2 separate regions of the Homo sapiens genome follow, and region 2 is linked to region 1. Evidence: promoter capture Hi-C in human tissues and cell types (Jung and others, 2019). All regions are on one chromosome and are shown on one strand. The core of a region is centred on a gene start or on the middle of the fragment in contact, and the rest is flanking DNA. Distances in the headings are between cores, read along the strand shown. Region 1 holds the start of GANAB (glucosidase II alpha subunit). Region 2 has its middle 6.1 kb from the start of SLC3A2.

Region 1 (5,988 bases), core at 1,354-3,853:
TCTTGGCTCACCGCAACCTCTGCCTCGCGGGTTCAAGCAATTCTCCTGCCTCTGCCTCCCAAGTAGCTGGGATTACAGGCGCGTGCCACCACACTCGGCTAATTTTGTATTTTTAGTAGAGACGGGGTTTCTCTGTGTTGGTCAGGCTGGTCTCGAACTCCCAACCTCAGGTGATTCGCCAGCCTCGGCCTCCCAAAGTGCTGGGATTACAGGTGTGAGCCATCGTGCCCGGCTGACACCACATTTTAAACATGCTCTCCCAGTGACACTGATATGGGCAGAATACGAGCATACTCTGAGAAAGTGTTTCAAACTGGGGGTGGGAGGGTTCTTCTAAGCAATAAAGTTTTACAACCAGCCAGGCACAGTGGCTCACGTCTATAATCCTAGCACTTTGGGAGGTCAAAAAGGGAAGATTGGGCAACACAGCAAGACCTCGTCTCTACTTAAAAAAAAAAAAGAGTAGCAAGGCATGGTGGCAGGTGCCTGTAGTCCCAGCTAATCAGGAGGCTGAAGCCGGAGGACTGCCTGAACGCAAGAGTTTGAGGCTGCATGAGCTACGATTGCACCACTGCTCTCCAGCCTGGGCCACAGCACAAGACTCTGTCTCAAAAAAGTAAATTAATTAAGACTGGTCAATGGGGTGTCTACTAAAAATACAAAAATTAGCTGGGCACGGTGGCACACGTCTGTAATCCCAGGACTCGGGAGGATGAGGCAGGAGAATCGCTTGAACTCGGGAGGTGGAAGCTGGAGTAAGCCGAGATTGCACCCCTGCACTCCATCCTAGGCAACAGAGCGAGACCCTGTTTCAATAAGTAAACAAACAAATAAATAAATAAATAAAATTTGACAACCTATAATAAGGTAACTAAAGACAGGGTCTATTATACACATTGTATCTAGTTATCTAGCATTAGCTTCAGCATCTGCTTGAAAGCTAAAAGAAAATTACCAGAAATGAGATCACAGAGTGTACTATGATCTCATCACAGGACTCTCCTCCAGCTCCAGAGGAATGTACGAAACAACTGTTCCACAGCAGGCCAGACAGAAAAATGAAGAAAACACTAGGCACTGTGGTTTAATAGGCCAAGCAGAATAAATGCTACCACAAAACTCCATAGCAAGGCATGCGGCACAGGTCCTGCAGTGAGTGACCTGAGTGACTGCAACAGGCACTCTTGGCCACTGACCCACGTCCACCTGCCAAAAGCAGCAGTAAATAGAAGTACAGTGAGTTGAGGCCGGGCGCGGTGGCTCACGCCTGTAATCCCAGCACTTTGGGAGGCCGAGGCGGGTGGATCACGAGGTCAAGAGATCGAGATCATCCTCACCAACATAGTGAAACCCCGTCTCTACTAAAAATACAAAAAAATAGCCAGGCGTGGTGGCGGGTGCCTGTAGTCCCAGCTACTCGGGAGGCTGAGGCAGGAGAATGGCGTGAACCCAGGAGGCGGAGCTTGCAGTGAGCCGAGATCTCGCCACTGCACTCCAGCCTGGGCAACAGAGCGAGACTCTGTCTCTCAAAAAAAAAAAAAAAAGACGTACAGTGAGTTAAATACCCTCTGGGGCCCTATTTGCACAGTCTGTAAAATTGGTTCGGAAAGATGCCAATGGAGATAGGATTCCTAAAGCATCTTTCAGATATGACCTGTTGGAGGGCCCTAAGGAATTCACGGCGGCCTTGACCACCCCAAGAGAGGTGTTCATAGGCCAAAGTCAGGAATAAGCTGCAGGGCAAGTTGCACGCATTTATTGTTTCAGATCACAGGCTCCGAGGGAACTGAGTTTATGATCCACGCTTTCTTCATCGCTTTGGAGAGTACACGCCTACCCCACCCCAGTATATCCGTTAGGTCCTAGTAAACATTTGTGGCACTGGTGATATGTTTCGAATCTTTTTTTTTCCCCAGTAATATAAACCCGAGAGCGTGGACCAAGCCATTCGATTACATGTTGTGTTTGAGCAACACCATCCACGCCGTGAGCTTACTGGACCCTGGGCCGTGCCCAGCGACCGTGGACACTGAACTAAGCCAGAGCTGGTGCTCACGTGAAGACAAGGGCAGAGGAGGATTCGGAGCTCTACAGGGTAGAGCCAGAAGGGTAGTACAGGCTTAACTGCTGGCCCGGTGCTTCCAGCTCAGCCGAGGGGCCGCGGGGCCGCAGGCTGCATTCCCCGAGGCCAGGCCGCATCTTTTCCCCCGCCCCGACGACCCCGCGCACTGCAGGAAGGGGGCGGCGACGTTGACCGCCGCAAGCAGCCAAAGGAGGGCGGCGGCTGAGAGCGGCCAAGACCAAGAAAGACGCACAGCTGTGGCTTTACTAAACCGCCGGGCGGGAGCCCGGAGCCCCACAGGCAAGGCCCCCAGCGTCGCTCGGATCTACCACGGGGAGACCGGAGGCGTCTGAGGCCGCCTCCAGAGGAACAAAGGTTCCTCACGAGGCCGGGGGTGGCAGAGTGTCAAGAGACACACAGGAAGGAGTGGAATGGGACTTGGGGGATCTGGGGGCGTCCCGGGCGCGCCCCCAGATTCCGGGCTCCTCACCGCCTCCTACGCGCCGCCACTGCCGCTACCGCCGCCATCTTGTGCAGAGTTTGCTCCTTGACCCCAAACCTCCCGCCCCATCGCGCGCGCTCAGCCACGTATCCTAGTTCCCGCCCCTTCCGGCCTTATGATTGGTTCGACCTGAGCGCCGCCGGGCAGCTGTCTCATTGGTAGAGTGCGCACTCCAAATTATCGCAGGGGGCGGGGCTTCAGGCCAGGGGCGGGAACGTCCAGAGCCAGGCGCTGTCAGACTTTGCACGCTCTCAGCATGACAGAAGCACTGGACTGGTTTTCTCAAGTTGGCAAATTTTATTTAGAAAAAAAAAAGTGGGAGAGAAAAAAGTGACAGCGCTCTTTAGACCAAGGACTTAGAAGAGAAACCTCCACCCTTCCGGAGCACGTTAGTCCCTTCCCTCTCTCACTGCTCAACCTCCCTGGGCTTCCAGAGCAAGAAAAGGCTACGTCCCCTGTCGAAGGAGAGTGGACGGTGAAGGTGCCTGGAAACGGCCAGAGAAAAGACCTAGGCGGTCGATGTTGCGGTGGAGGACACTGTGCAGCACAGCCAGATGGGGTCCACCCTCACCTCCACCCTCCCTGGAGAAGTCCCGAATGAAGCGACCCCGCTCTGATTGGAAGATGAACTTCTGAGGCAAGGGCCCATGCTCCCGGAGAAAACCCCAGACACTGAGCAGCAGCAGACGCACCTCGAAAGGTGCCAGTTGGCTAAATACTTCATGCATATTACCCAGGGCCGGAGGCAGGAGGCTTCCCTCAGCCATGACAGCCACTAAGGTGCAGGATGCCTCCAGGTGCCAGGGGGAGTGGGTCGTGTCAGGGTGGCGAGAGGCTTCCCAATGGCCCAAGAGGGCGGCCAGCAGCCCCCGAAGCAGCACGGAACAGTAGCACAGGGCTGGGGGTGCAGCTGCTACCAGCTTTAACAGCTCAAAGAGCAGGGGCTGTTCGCGGAAGCGCCGGCCAATGCGGAGATCCCGCTCCACGGTGGCCCGGGCGTGTTCCTCGGGGGGCCAGGCCAGCTCTGCACCAGCTGCATCGGGACACACACTCTCCACCAAGGTCACTGCCACTGCTTTGGCTGCCTCTGGACTCAAGATGGGTGCCCCCCAGCATTCCCCACATTCAGTGCCCCCTGGGGCACTGCAGCAGTGAACCAGGAGGCTGAGGAGGCTCTGGGTGTTATAGATCACTTCCTGCTGATTTCGTGACTGGACAAACTTGGGTGGCTTTAAGCCACGGCCGATGACTCCAGCATGGAAAACTGACCAAATCCCTCCAGGACCTGGCACAGCTGCAGTGTGCCTCCGGTTAGTGTCCAACAGGGAGGCAGAAGCCAAAGAAGCTGAAACAACTGAGAGAGTCTCATTGTCCCCATCTACTTGCCCACCAAACAGTTCTGTGTTGCCTCGATGTAAGGCTCCTTCAACCAGCAGCTGCAGGACAGCCTTGAGCCCAGCTGGGGATGTCTGAGACAGGCGGGTGAGAAGCTGACAGGCTGAGGCCACACCTGGGGGTCCATGCAGCCTCAGAGAGGCAAAGAAGCGGTGCACCCCAGCCCTTACCAGTCCCAGGAGCTGGGAGGGGGATAAGGCTTCAGAAGGAAAGGGACAAATGGCCAGGAGAGAGGCAGCAGCTTCAGCTACTTCCTCCTCAGGATGTAGCAGGAGAGGAGCCAGGTCAGACAGATGGGCTGAGGCAGATTCCCCAAAGTGCGCCCCTAGGGCTGCAGGGCCCTCGCCACCCTGCTGTTCCCACCCTACTAGCAGTGCCAAGTTGCGCAGGAACCGGGCCGTGAAGGGAGGCTGTAATGTCCCTGCATGCACCCGAGCCAGACAGCTTCGGAAAGCCAGGGGCAGGAGGCCAGAGAGGCTGACCACTAGCCCTGCATATAACTGGGTGGCCAAACTCAACTCTTCAGGGCTTCGGGCTCGGCTCAGCAGATGGCCCAAGGCCTCAGGTCCACAGCTAGGCCGGGTATAGACAGACAGCAGGCCCAAGAGCTGGTGCTGCCAGAGGAAGCGCTTCCGTTCCAATCGTAACGTCTCTCCACACAGCTCTCCAACATGGTTTTTGAGCGCATCTAAAAAGGGCACCAAGCGGGGAGGTGGGGGCGGGCCTAGCACCCCTTCCCCAGGAGACCCTCCCCGGTGATGAACCAGTTTTTGCAGGTGCAGCAGCAGCAGCTGGATTAGCCGGTCACAAGCCTCACGCACGGTGTCTGGCACAGCCAGGCCCTGGGTGGTAATGACCGAAGCAGGCATAGCTGTGTCCACCAGGAACTGCAGCAAGCGGTAGGCACCTGCCCCAGAGGCCTGGCTCACCAGGTGCACAGCCAGGTTCAACATGTTGTCCAGCTCCTCTCGGGGGAATCCTTGAAGGTGTTGCTGCAGCTGGCTCAGCACAGCTGGGGGCTTGAGGCAATCCACAAGCTCTCCAGAGACAGTGCCCAGCAAAGCTGGTGACATGACTGCCAGCTGCAGTAGGAACGGAACCGTGGCCTGAAGGGAGGGGTCCCCACTGCGGCCTCCAGATCCCCCTGCCAGGCTATCATGGAACATTCGCAGGAGCTCCCGTCGGATGCTATCTCCGTGGCGGGAGGCCAGGTGACCTAGGATGCCTACAACTGAGGCAATCTTGGGCACCCGTTTCTCCGCAGGAATGGCAGGAGATCCAGGGAAGGGGTCTGTAGAGGGGGTCTGAGAAGAGCTTCCACCACTACTGCCAGCTCCACCTCCAGCCCCACCATGGACACAAAAGTCCTTAAGGCCACAGGAGAGAACCCGGGAAATGATGGTGCCAGGAAAAGAGGAGCCAATATGTGCCACAACCCAGTCAAAGTGTGGAGAATGCTGAACAGAGGTATCCAGCAAGGCATCCACACACGCATCTGGGCAGCTACCAATGAGAGCCGAGAGGCACTGCACATAGATGTCCATTAATGTACGCGTGGCCCTACAACCCATCCACAGCTGTAGCAGTTCATTAAGAGCGCCAGTAGCGTGGGGAACACGCTGGTGCTGGCCTGAGTACGTGCTGCTCAGTTGCCCCATGAGGTCAATGGACCATGCACTAATCACAGGTGCCCAGGCCTTTGGGTTGGCCCGGATAAACTCAGACAGCACCTGCTGCACTTCCTGAACCACATCCTCTAGACCAGGTCCACCAGCAGGGACATGAGAGGGTGGAGGTGGACGGAGGTGAGGTGGACCAGCCACAGGGGTTTCATCCAGGGCAGCCAGGTGGGCCCGGACACTCTCATCAAAGACACCTCTCAAGTGGTCAAGCACAGCAGCCCGAGCAGGTGGCAAAGAACGGAGCAGGAGAAGACCACAGCGAGCATGTTCCCGGGCTGAGAGTTGGTGGCCCAGAATGGGGTCTACGCCAGTCAGAAAAGCCTTGATTTCCTGGGACAGCTCCTGAG
Region 2 (5,988 bases), core at 2,116-4,615, 230 kb after region 1:
TTGTATTAGAATTGCATTTGGATTTTTAGATTGTTTGGGGAGCACTAATTTCTTTATGACATCAAATCTTTATTTTATTATTATTATTATTATTTTTTGAGATGGAATCTTGCTCTGTCGCCCAGGCTGGAGTGCGGTGGCGTGATCACAGCTCACTGCAACCTCCGCCTCCTGGGTTCACGCCATTCTCCTGCCTCAGCCTCCCAAGTGGCTGGGACTACAGGCACACACCGCCACGCCTGGCTAAATTTTTTTTGTATTTTTAGTAGAGACGGGGTTTCACCATGTTAGCCAGGATGGTCTCGATCTCCTGACCTTGTGATCCGTCTGCCTGGCCTCCCAAAGTGCTGGGATTACAGGCGTAAGCCACTGCACCTGGCCCTCTGCTTTTTTAAAAAAAGAATTCATTAGCTGAGTGCAGTGGCTCACGCCTCTAATGCTAGCACTTTGGGAGGCAGATCACTTGAACCCGGGAGTTCGAGACCAGCTTGGACAACATGACAAAACCCTGTCTCTACCAAAAAATACAAAAATTAGCCAGGCATGGTTGCATGCTCCTGTAATACCAGCTGTTCAGGAGGCTGAGGTGGGAGGATTGCTTAAGCTGAGGAAGTCAAGGCTGTAGTAAGCCAAGATCACATTACTGCACTCCAGCCTGGGCAACAGAGAGAGACCCTGTCTCAAAAAAACCCAAGAAACAGAAAACAGAATTTGTCTTTAGTTTCTCTATAGTCCAGCCTCCTTTTAAGAGACTTGGTGTTGAAATTAACCAATTTTTTCTTTCTTTGAGACGGAGTTTCACTCTTCTTGGCCAGGCTAGAGTGCAATGGCTCGATCTCGGCTCACTGCAACCTCTGCCTCCCCGGTTCAAGTGATTCTCCTGCCTTATTCTCCTGAGTAGCTAGGATTACAGGCATGTGCCACCACACCTGGCTAATTTTGTATTTTTAGTAGAGATGGGGTTTCTCCATGTTGGTCAGGCTGGTGTTTAACTCCTGCCCTCAGGTGATCCGCCCGCCTTGGCCTCCCAAAGTGTTGGGATTACAGGCGTGAGCCACTGTGCCTGGCCTAACCAATTTTTTAGTTGCAGAATGAGTGATATTTCAAATTCAATTTTCTGTTACAGCATACCATACTCTAAATATCTACTTCTCAATATTTTATATTCTCTTTCACCTTATTGATTATAAAATATATATATATTTTTCAGACAGGGTCTCGCTCTGTGGCCTTGGCTGGAGTGCAGTGGTGTGATCTCAGCTTACTGCACCCTCAACTTCCCAGGCTCAAGTGATACCTCCCACCTCAGCCTCCCGAGTAGCTGGGACTACAGGCATGTGCAACCACACTCAGCTAATTTAAAAAATTTTTTGTGGCCGGGCCTGGTGGCTCACGTCTGTAATCCTAGCATTTTGGGAGGCCAAGTCGGGCAGATCATGAGGTCAGGAGTTCGAGAACAGCCTGGCCAACATTAGTGAAACCCCGTCTCTACTAAAAATACAAAAATTAGCCGGGCATGGTGGTGGGCCCCTGTAGTCCCAGGTACTCTGGGAGGCTGAGGCAGGAGAATCACTTGAACCTGGGAGGCAGAGGTTGCAGTGAGCCGAGATCGCACCACTGCACACCAGCCAGGGTGACAGTGCGAAACTCTGTCTCAAAAAAAAAAAAAAATTTTGTACAGACAAGGTCTCACTATATTGCCCAATCTGGTCTTGAACTCCTGGGATCAAGTAATCCTCCTACCTTGGCCTTGCAAAGTGCTGGGAGTACTAGGTGTGAGCCACCACACCCGGCCAGCTAATTAAAATCAAACTTTTTTTTATAGAGACACGGGGTCTTGCTACGTGGCCCTGTCTGGTCTCAAACTTCTGGGCTCTAATGATTCTCCCATTTTGGCCTCCCAAATTACAGGCGTGAGCCATGGCACCTGGCCAGGCTCATCAGTTATTTGTTTTTTTGTTTATTTCTAATTTTTATTTTAATTATTTTAGACCAGTTCTAGCTCTGTTGCCCAGGCTAGAGTGCAGTGGTGCAATCATAACTCACTGTAGCTTCAACCTCCTGGGCTCAAGTGGTCCCTCCCACCTCAGCTTCCCAAGTAGCTGGGACCCCAGGTACTTGCACCATGCCCAGCTAATTTTTTTTTTTTTTTTTTTTTTTTTTTTTTTTTTTTTGGAGAAAGAGTCTCAAATAATTTATGTAGATCTTCCCTCTGCCCAGAGATACAGAGTTTAACTCTGTACATCTTGAGTGCAGGCTGCGCTTAGTGATTCTCTTCCTCAGAGTGTGATGACAAAGTTTTGGAGGGCCAGGGGAGGGAGAAAATGAGGATGCAGTATTGTGTGATCATGACTGCAGAAATAGCTGCTGTTGGAGGGCCTCAGTGATCATTTTAAGGTCTCTTATTGCTACTTATCTTTTTTGATGAGATTAAGTATTCTGTCTCTGATCAGTTGAATATCTGATGTCATTAATCCAAGGATAATATGTTAAAAGTACTACCCCATATTTTCCACATACTGACCTGCTATTTCTCTGGTGTTTATCTTTTAGTATTTGGTTTCATTTGAGAGAATGGCTTGCTGCAATGTTTTTCATTTGTCTAACTTACTTGAATACTGGATACTTTTCAGATGGTGCATTTATTTCTCTTCTCCTAAGAGATGACTTTGGTTCTATTTCTTTCACTCTTTCTGGCTTTTATCCCCACTTTGCATTCTTCACCCTTTAGTAAGACAACCCTGACAGGTCTCTTCTTTAGCAGCCAGTGTCCCTCCTATAGGATTCATAGTAACAATTAATAGTATTCTGACATGGGTTCTTCAGATAGTAGCTGCGAAGTGAACTGCTTTAGTTGGAGTCTTTTTCTCTGCTTTAATTTCAGCCACGCTTTGACTTCCAAATGCTCAATTCCTCACCCATCTTTCCTTTTTCTTTTTCTTTTTTTTTTTTTTGGAGACAGAGTCTTGCTCTGTCACCGAGGCTGGAGTGCAGTGTAATCTCAGCTTACTGCAACCTCCGCCTCCCAGGTTGAAGGGATTCTCCTGCCTCAGCCAAGTAGCTGGGATTACAGGCACCCGCCATCGTGTGCGACTAATTTTTGTATTTTTAGTAGAGATGGGGATTTGCCATGTTGGCCAAGCTGGTCTCGAATTCCTGACTTCAAATGATCTGCCCGCCTCATTCTTCCAAAATGCTGGGATTACAGGCATGAGCCACCACACTGGCCTCATTTTTCAAATGGCTAAAATCTTCAAGATTTCTGGCTGATTGGTATTTTAGAGGCAGCTTTGATGTTTTGTTTCTGGGTCTTTGGAATAGAGTCTTGGGCTTTCGAAGATTTATGGAGGCTGTTGGACAGAGACAGTCTCCTGAAGAGTTTCTAGCTGTCCTCCCATCTTCTCTCTGCCTTTAGAAATCCTTCTTAGATGTGGCCGGGCACGGTGGCTCACGCCTGTAATCCCAGCACTTTGGGAGGCCGAGGCGAGTGGATCACGAGATCAGGAGATCAAGACCATCCTGGCTAACATGGTGAAACCCCGTCTCTACTAAAAATACACAAAAAAATCAAAATTAGCTGGGCGTGGTGGTGGGCACCTGGAGTCCGCAGGAGAATAGTGTGAACCTTGGAAGGCAGAGCTTGTAGTGAGCTGAGATCGCACCACTGTACTCCAGCCTGGGCGACAGAGCGAGACTTCATCTCAAAAAAAAAAGTCCTTCTTAGATGTTTTTAGTTGTTTGTTTATTTTTCGAGATGGAGTTTTGCTCTTGTTGCCCAGGCTGAAGTGCAATGGCACGATCTGGGCCCATTGCAACCTCTGCCTCCCAGGTTCAAGCGATTCTCCTGCCTCAGCCTCCTGAGTAGCTGGGATTACAGGCAGCCACCACCATGCCCAGCTCATTTTTGTATTTTTAGTAGAGATGGGGTTTCACCACGTTGGCCAGGCTGGTCTCAAACTCCTGACCTCAGGTGATCCGCCCGCCTCAGCCTCTCAAAGTGCTGGGATTGCAGGCATGAGCCACTGCGCCCAGCCTGTTTGTTTGTTTTCAGATAGGGTCACCCTGTCAGCCAGGCTGGAATGCAATGGTGTGATTGTGATCACAGCTCACTGCTGCCTCAACCTGAGGGCTCAAGTGATCCTCCCACTTCAGCCTCCTTAGTAACTGGGACCACAGGGGTGAGCCACCATGCCTGGCTAATTTGTTAATTTTTGTAGAGATGGGGTCTCCCTATGTTGCCGAGGCTGGTCTCAAACTACTGGGCTTAAGTGATCCTCCTGCCTTAGCTTCCCAGAGCGCTGGGATTAAAGGCATGAGCTGCTGTGCCTGGTCAATCCTTTTTACATGTTTGAGGAAAAATAAATGTCCTGTTTTCAGGCTAAGATCAAGTAATAATCCTCATGTGTTAGGAAGCATGTGACATGGATTTTTGCAGCAGAGGGTTAGAAAGGAACTTTCTTTATATACTTGGCCCCCTGCATTTCAGGGCTCCACCGCCATCTGTCTGTCTGAGTGTAAAGTGGACCTTATTGGCATCTGGGCTGCCAAACTGCTTTTTTTCCTTTGCTTTGCCCAGCCTTCTCTTGAAGGCTAAATTCTTGAAAAATTATATTCTTTGTGTTCCTATAGTAAATATTAAGCTTTATATCAACACATATGGCAGGATCTGAGGCTCTTTACTCACCTCTGGTCCATTTCTCTAGTCTTTTCTCTGTAGTCTTTTTGTTTTCCTGTCCTCCATCTCCTAATTTATTAGTTTTATTATTATATTTTATATTATTTTTTTGAGACAGAGTTTTGCTCTTGTTGCCCAGGCTGGAGTGCAATGGCGCGATCTTGGCTCACTGCAATCCCTGCCTCATGGGTTCAAGTGATTTGTCTGCCACAGCCTCCTGAGTAGCTGAAATTACAGGCACGCACCACCATACCTGGCTAATTTTTGTATTTTTAGTAGAAACGGGGTTTCACCATGTTAGCCAGGCTGATATTGAATTCCTGACCTCAATTGATCCGACTGCCTCGGCCTCCGGAAGTGCTGGGATTACAGGTGAGCCACAGTGCCTGGCAGTTTGTTTTATTTTGGTTGAACAGTTACAAGTCTTGGTTTGTTTTCCTGCAGCAACAGGTTTATCTTGATATGATACAGCGTTATTTAAATTCCTTTTCATTTTCCTGCCTTTGTCTTCACATGCTAGTTTTTTTCAGTTGTTTCTTTTTTCTTCTTCCTTTTCTTTTTTTTTTTTTTTGAGAGATAGTCTTGCTGTGTTGTCCAGGTTGCAGTACAGTGGTGCGATCTGGGCTCACTGCAACCTCTGCCTCCTGGGTTCAAGTGATTCTCTCACCTCAGCCTCCGGAGTAGCTGGGATTACAGGTGCCCACCACCACGCCTGGCTAATTTTTGTATTTTTAGTAGAGACAGCGTTTCACCATGTTGGCCAGGCTGGTCTTGAACTCCTGACCTCAATTGATCTGCCTGCCTTGGTCTCCCAAAGTGCTGATTACAGGTGTGATCCACCGTGCCTAGCCTGTTTAGTTGTTTCTAAGAAGGGAGATATTGGTTTTGATTGACATAGTTCATCCACTTATTTACCAAACACTTGCGAAGTGCCTACTATATGCTGCCTCCGAATAGGCAGGTTCGTCCACAATAGCACAAGGCTCCTGCCACTTGTCTTCAAGGACAAAGAGACATCCAGACAAACAAATGTAATAAACAAATGGGACATGATTGTAGCAGAGGCAGATGCATGGTGGAGGGAAAGTAATTTTGTCTGGGGAGTTGAGAAAAGCTGTCACTTGAGCTAGATCTTGAATGAATAGGAACTCATGAGGTTGAGTGGACAAACAGGAAGGGCCAACAGCAGAGGTATGGCATGTACAAGATGCAGAGCTCTGCCTGAAAAAGCCTGGTGTGTTGTGAGTCTGGCAGGTGTTTGAAGGCTGATGTGGCTGGAGGCTAGTGCCTGTGAAGCAGGTGGTGGCTGATAA

What was found. Contacts are between HindIII fragments. The study calls those that stand out against the background at their distance.
Region 2: a contact is called between a fragment that was not itself captured here and the fragment with the promoter of GANAB in region 1, in 1 of the 25 tissues and cell types used here (spleen).

Annotation. Positions count from the first base shown.
Region 1 is chr11:62,644,010-62,649,997 of GRCh38, forward strand. GANAB (glucosidase II alpha subunit) reads right to left here and starts at 2,604. Exons shown (of 24, transcript NM_198334.3): 1 at 2,553-2,604. The coding sequence starts at 2,590. INTS5 (integrator complex subunit 5) reads right to left here. Exons shown (of 2, transcript NM_030628.2): 2 at 2,839-5,988. The coding sequence ends at 3,011. RefSeq lists enhancers at 803-1,610, 1,926-2,085 and a silencer at 2,696-2,775. The HindIII fragment of the contact is 17,220 bases long and covers 1-5,988 here.
Region 2 is chr11:62,871,833-62,877,820 of GRCh38, forward strand. It overlaps a transcript of SLC3A2 not described here. Among named protein-coding and RNA genes, the nearest start is that of SLC3A2, 6.1 kb to the right of the region's middle. The HindIII fragment of the contact is 8,872 bases long and covers 1-5,988 here.